2 separate regions of the Homo sapiens genome follow, and region 1 is linked to region 2. The links are contacts of gene promoters, found by promoter capture Hi-C in human tissues and cell types (Jung and others, 2019). All regions are on one chromosome and are shown on one strand. Each heading gives the region's core, a stretch centred on a gene start or on the middle of the fragment in contact. The rest is flanking DNA. Distances are from core to core; before and after follow the strand shown.

The links. The method cuts DNA at HindIII sites, captures the fragments that hold promoters and counts their contacts. A contact is called where the count stands out against the background at its distance.
Region 1: a contact is called between a fragment that was not itself captured here and the fragment with the promoter of ZSWIM4 in region 2, in 1 of the 25 tissues and cell types used here (lymphoblastoid cells).

What each region holds. Positions count from the first base shown.
Region 1 is chr19:13,348,117-13,351,595 of GRCh38, reverse strand. All of the region lies in intron 6 of CACNA1A (calcium voltage-gated channel subunit alpha1 A), which reads left to right. Among named protein-coding and RNA genes, the nearest start is that of CACNA1A, 160 kb to the left of the region's middle. The HindIII fragment of the contact is 8,117 bases long and covers 1-3,479 here.
Region 2 is chr19:13,793,567-13,796,692 of GRCh38, reverse strand. It overlaps ZSWIM4 (zinc finger SWIM-type containing 4), which reads right to left and starts at 1,250. Exons shown (of 14, transcript NM_001367834.3): 1 at 892-1,250. The coding sequence starts at 1,044. RefSeq lists an enhancer at 587-656 and silencers at 897-1,106, 1,127-1,616. The HindIII fragment of the contact is 5,751 bases long and covers 1-3,126 here.

The sequences.
Region 1 (3,479 bases), core at 856-3,355, 450 kb after region 2:
AGAGGTTGCAGTGAGCTGAGATCACGCCATTACACTCCAGCCTGGGCAACAAGAGCAAAACTACATCTCAAAAAAAATGTTTTTTAATTAGCCGGGTGTGGTGGTCCATGTCTGTAGTTCCAGCTACTTGGGAGGCTGAGGCAGGAGGATTGCTTGAGCCCAGCAGTTCAAGGCTGCAGTGAGCTATGATCCCGCCACTGCACTCCAGCCTGGGCAACAGCAAGACCCCATCTCTTAAATAAACACATAAGTAAATAAATGATCATTTTTATTTTATTATTAAATACACAAGATAAATGAAAAACAGGCAAATCTTTCTTACAAAAGAATTCCATTTAAAGTATGTAAACTTCACTCCCCACTGCCCCAGGAGGTGGAGACTAATCTCCCCTACTTTGAGAGTGGGCTGGATTTAGTGACTCATTTCCGAAGAATAGAGTAGGTAAAGGGGAAAATAGAAGTTTTATAGCGGAGGAACAGATAGATACCACTTTAACCAAATGATGAAGATTAGTATCCCCCAGGGATGTGGATATTATGTAACCCTTGATTTTATGCCTATATAGCGTTCTTCCCAAAAACTCCTAATCCCAGTTTTTTGGGGTTTTGCTCTGTCTTCTAAGCTGGAGTGCGATGATGCAATCATAGCTCACTGCAGCTCAAACTCCTGGTCTCAAGCGATCCTCCCACCTCAACCTCCTGAATAGCTAGGGCTGTAAGCACATACCATCATGCCCAGCTAATTGTATTTTTTTGGTAGAGACATGTTCTCACACATTGCCCACGCTGTCCTCGAGCTACTGGCCTCTAGTGATCCTCCCACCCCAGCCTCCAGAGTCACTGGGATTATAGGCATGAGCCACTGTGACCAGCCCAGAATTTTTTTTTAAGGAGTTGTGATGTCGTTTAAGAGATGTGATTCTTCATAACACATCAACAACAAGTCCCAGCGATGGGTTGGATAAGTCTTGGGATTTCATGGGAGTATTAAGCTTAAAAGACTTTGCATGATATCTGTGAACTATATGTGATTTCTGTTGGTAATGGGGGTCACTGATTCTGCGGTTTGCCACCTCCAATCATCATGGAAGAAAATGTTCCACTTCCAGTGAAAGTAAGAGGAAGTAAAGGGGTAATTATTTTCTATCTAAATTCACGAACTCCTTGAATTCTGTCCACAGACCCCTAAGTGTTTCCTCCCCAAGGTGAAACTGAGAGAATCTTGCCAGTGCCTTCCGCAGTCACTGTGGCTAGAAAACCCCTCAGAAGAGGTGATAGTTTAGCAGGTAACTGGAGTTCTCACCATCCGTGTCTGGCTCAGCCCCCATCACAACCAGTTACCCAGCCCAAAATGTCAGTAGTACTGAGGTTGAGAGGCTCTGCTCTAGGAGGCCAGGCCTCTCAGAGGAAGGAGGATTGGGGTACTGGCTGGGCCTCAAGATGAACCTACCCCCTAAGAGCTTTGGGATGGCGTGAGTTTCTGTCCATACCCAAGGACTACAAATGCAGGTTTACTGGAAATTCTGTGCCAAAAGTGAGGTCCAACTCACTTCTAACTGCTACAAAACAAACCTCCATCAACATAGCCCATCTCTGTTCTTGACCTGGAAGCTCCAAGGTATCCACATGGCTCCCATGCCCACTAGACGGGCCTCTTCCCTGGACCTTCCTGGGCCAGAGAAGGCTCTGGGTAGCCTTGTGGAATCAAGATGGGTGATCAGCCACTTCCTCTGTGCCACCCTGTTTTGGCTACTTCCCTAGGCATCAGCCTGGGATTCCTTGATGGTAAAAATATAAAACTCTCTGAGCTAGGGCCTTTAATATCCCCATTTTACAGATGAAGAAACTGAGTCCCAGAGCTGTGCACAGCGATTGAGAGTCAGAATTCAGCTCTGTCTCACTCAGTGTCAACATCCTCAGATTCTGCCATTTATAGCCTCCCACAGCAAATAGGATTGAGGGCTGCTTCTCTGAGCTCAAGGGGATAGAATGGGGAACCCCATGAGTACTGCAACAAAACTGTTTGCTGGAGACAAGAGCTGGTGGCTCTGTGTTGTTCTAGTGACAGGTGGCCTCATTTCACAGGGACCCCCTCACCCTATGTGCCCCATGTGGCTCAGAAAAGCCAGAAATTGTCTCCACTCTCACAGGGGAAGGTCCCTGACCCCCTCTTTGCCAGCTGGGCCAAGGCAAATTGGGGTCACTTCATGGGGTACAGGACCTACCCTCTCTTGGTTGCCCCCAAGGAGGGGATGTGGAGGGGCTGGGGACCTGGCAGGACCAGGGTGTCTTGAGTTAATTTGGGGCTGCCTTTAGCCGAGGGCTTCTGTGTGCCTGGCATCAGCTTTACATTGTGTCTTGATCCGTAAAACAGCCCTGTGAGGAAAGATATTTTTAACCCCATCTTCCAGATGAGGAAACGGAGGCCCACAGGGTGACGTGACCTGCCAAGGTCCCCTAGCCAAGAGTGACAAAGCCAGGGTTCACACACAGCTCTGGACACAATTCATCACCCTTCATCCGTCTCTCTCTGACTCTTTCTTTTTCCCTCTCTCTCTTTGTCTCTCTTTTTTTTTTTTTTTTTTTTTGAGACAGCGTCTCACTCTGTCACCCAGGCTAGAGTGCAGTGGCGCAATCTCGGCTCACTACAACCTCCATCTCCTGGGTTCAAGCGATTCTTGTGCCTCAACCTCCCAAGTAGCTGGGATTACAGGTGCGTGCCACCACACCCAGCTAATTTTGGGGGGTTTTGTTTTGTTTTGAGATGGAGTCTTGCTCTGTCGCCAGGCTGGAGTACAGTGGCGTGATCTCGGCTCACTGCAGCCTCTGACTCCCAGGTTCAAGTGATTCCCCTGCCTCAGCCTCCTGAGTAGCTGGGACTACAGGCATGCACCAACACGCCCAGCTAATTTTTTGTATTTTAGTAAAGACGGGGTTTCACCATGTTGGCCAGGATGGTCTCGATCTCCTGAGCTCATGATTCGCCCGCCTTGGCCTCCCAAAGTGCCGGGATTACAGGCGTGAGCCACTGTGCCTGCCAATTTTTTGTATTTTTAACAGAGACTGGGTTTCAACATGTTGGCCGGGCTGGTCTCGAGCTCCTGACCTCAAGTGATCTGCCTGCCTTGGCCTCCCAAAGTGCTGGTATTACAGGCATGAGCCACCATGCCCAGCCTTTGTCTCTTTTATTCTTGTGTTCTCTCTCTCTCTTCCTTCTCTTTCTCCACCTCCTTCTCCTTCTCTCCCTTCTCCTCACCCTTCTTTGTGCTTTTCTCTGTGAGTTTCTCTTCTTCTCTATTTCTCTCCTTTGGTGAATGTCAATTAGAAAAGCAGAAAAACTGCGTTTAATTTGTGATCATAAATGCATGTCCCTGGCCAGGCGTGGTGGCTCACGCCTGGAATCCCAGCCCTTTGAGAAGCTGAGGCAGGAAGATTGCTTGAGACCGGGAGTTCAAAACCAGCCTGGTCAAAAAGCAAGA
Region 2 (3,126 bases), core at 1-2,500:
ACAGAAGAGAGCTTCTAGGTGCACCTGTCCAGGGACCACCACCCAGGCTCCGCCCCTGCTGTTTTCCTATGGGAAGAGATAGGATAGGTCAGGGGGATGAGGTGGGGAGGAGGAGGGACCCTGGCATTTCAGTAATCCCTGCGGCAAGCCAGGAGAAGACGGGCAGCCCCGAAAGAGGAATCTGGAGGAGTAGAGAGGGGTCCCCAAGGAACAGGTGGAATCTGGAGGCTCGAGGGCAGGAATGAATGGGGAAAAAAGGGGTGTCTTGAGCTGGAATCTGGAGAGATGGGGGAGTTATTTACTTGGGGTGTACGGTAGGGATCTGGAGAGCAGGAATGGGGTAGTGTGAGTCTCTAGAGGCTACGATGGAGGGAGACAGGGTGTCCCCAAGCGGGGGGCCGAAGAGAGGATTGAAGACTGAATGGGGTGCCCTGATTGGCGAATAAAGATGCGGTAGGAAAAGAGGGGTACCGTTGGGGGATAAGGTGGGAAAAGAGGGGTACCGTTGGGGGATAAGGTGGGAAAAGAGGGGTACCGTTGGGGGATAAGGCGGGAAAAGAGGGGTGCCCAGGGTTGTAGGCGGGCCATGGGGGCCAGATCTCAGAGATCTGGGGTTGGTAGGAGAAGAAGGAAGTGTCCTGATTTGGGATCTGGGGCGCTGAGGGGCAGAGATGGCAGAGAAGGGATGGGGGTGGGTTACTGGGTTTGAAGGACAGAAACAGGAGGATGAGGGGGTGTTTCCAGGCAGGGTTAAGGGTCCTGGGGGTGGAATCTCAGGGGGTGTCTCTGATTGGGTTAGCTCTGGAGTCTGGGGATTGTGGGGGAGGAGAAGACAGGTGGGGAAGGTGCTGGGGGTGCGTCCCTGCCCCCGCCCCCTTCCCCCGCGGTCACCTGCTCGAAGGCCCAGCTCTCGGCTACCCGCTTGGCGCTGAGGTCCAGCAGCGCCTCGGGCCGGCCCCGGCCACGCGCGGCCCCGGCCCCGGCATCGCGCTCCTCGGGTCCCGCGGGGCAGCCCCGGCTCCGCTTGGCCGCGGGGGGTTCCATCCGGCCCGGCCGGGGCCAGGGCCGGGGCGGGGCCTCTTTGGGGGGCTCGGTCCGATGCCCGCTCCGCTTCGCCGGCTCCCGCGCCCCCTGCCCTCCTTCCCGTCCGTCCTCTGCGCTCGGCCGCCCCGGGACCCCTACCGCACCCACCCCCGACCCGCGCCGGGCCGGCAGGGTGATGCGGCCCCTTTAAGACTCTTCACAACAATGAAGCTGCTTCAGCCGCCGCTTTAGCTCCGCCGTCGTCCCGCCCCCACCGCCTGTCCCTATTGGCCCCCCCTCGGCCTCCTCGGCCCTCCCCCGCCATTGGCTGCGCCGCCAGACCCGTGTCCAAGCCTCGCTGCTCACTCGATGACTGCGATGCCAGTCTTTTCTTGTTTACCCAACCAGAGCGCACAGCGAGGGGCGCTGTCAATCACGGGGCGCCAGAGGCCAATCAGAGTGGGAGGACCCCCGCGGCCCAGGCCTTATGCGGAGTTTCGGGGCGGGCCCGGGGTTCATTCACAACATTCCTCCCCCGCCTCTCTTGGGCTGGACTGCGCGCCCCAGGCTTCTGGGGCTGCGCCCACACACGGCTTTGTTTACTGAGGGTCGCTTCCGGGCGCCGCGAGGGGACAATCAACATAGCCCGGCCGGTGAGCGAGACAGAGCAGCGGGATCCCTTGGCAGTGGCTCAGCCCCTCGTCCCTCCCAGCTGTGCGACCCGAGAAACTCACTCAACCTCTCTGGGCACCGGGTCAAGTTTTGGTTCTTGTGGGGGCGGAGGGGTCGCAGGCTCACTGAGGGAGCTCATGCGGGCCGCGGACCCCCTCTCCAGAAACAAAGCTCGGTTAGGGGGTTCATAGGTCATCCCTTGAGCCTCAAAACTAGTATAGTACCCCGCCCCTCCTTTCCATGCCCTAGATACTATCTTGGGTCATATGAAATTGCTAATTTTTTTTTACCATTTTTGGCCTGTTAAAATGGCAATTCCATGAGGTTCACCCTAACACTTAATCAAACCCCAGCACCTCTGAGCATTTTTTCTGACTCAGCTTGTGTAGGCCACCGTCTCTGGCCTGGAAGCTGGCCATGGCTTCCATCACCCGTTCCCGTCCCGGCTCCTTGCCAATGTCCTCAGAGGACCCTGCATTTTTCCTTCCTCATACTTCTCACCATTACCATTTATTTATCTGTTTCGGCGGTTTTTTTTTTTTTTTTTTTTTTTTTTTTTACGGAGTTTCACTCTTGTCGTCCAGGCTGGGGTGCAGTGGTGCGATCTCGGCTCACTGCAACCTGCGCCTCCCGGGGTCAAGTGATTCTCCTGCCTCAGCCTCCCGAATAGCTGAAATTATAGGCGCCCACCACCACGCCCGGCTAATTTTTGTATTTTTGGTAGAGACGGAGTTTTGCCATGTTGGCCAGGCTGGTCTTGAACTCCTGACCTCAAGTGATCCACCTTTGGTAGTTGCTTAATTTCAATCTCTCCCTCTCCACTGTGAGCCTCAGGAGGCAGGAGTTTGTCCCATCTGTGCTTTACTGTACCGGCAGCACCTGGAAGGTAGGCGCTTAACCTAGAACTTGTTGAATGTACCAACCAACACATGCTTTGCCTCCATTCAGTTAAATGATAGGCACAGCAGAAAAAAAAAAAAAACAGTGATTATCCACTCATCCATATGGAAGCCCTAGCTTTTTCTTGGAGAAACTTCGAGTCTCACAGCTGCACCCTCTGGCCAGTCTTCACCCACTCTCCCTGCCACCCCCTCAATTAGTTAAACTCCCCTGCAGACCTGCACTGTCCAGTATGGTCACCAATGGCCACAAGTGGTCTCTGAGCCCTTGAAATGGGACTGGCTGAAATTAGGTTGTGCTGGAAAGGTAAAATACAGAGTGGATTTTGGAGACATAGCAGGAAGGGAACAAGGAAAAATATTTCTTTTTTTTTTTTTGAGATGGAGTGATCTCAGCTCACTGCAACCTCTGCCTCCCAGGTTCACGTGATTATTCTGCCTCAGCCTCCCAAGTAGCTGGGGCTACAGGCACCCACCGCCACGCCTGACTAACTTTTGCATTTTTAGTAGAGACGGGGTTTCACCATATTGG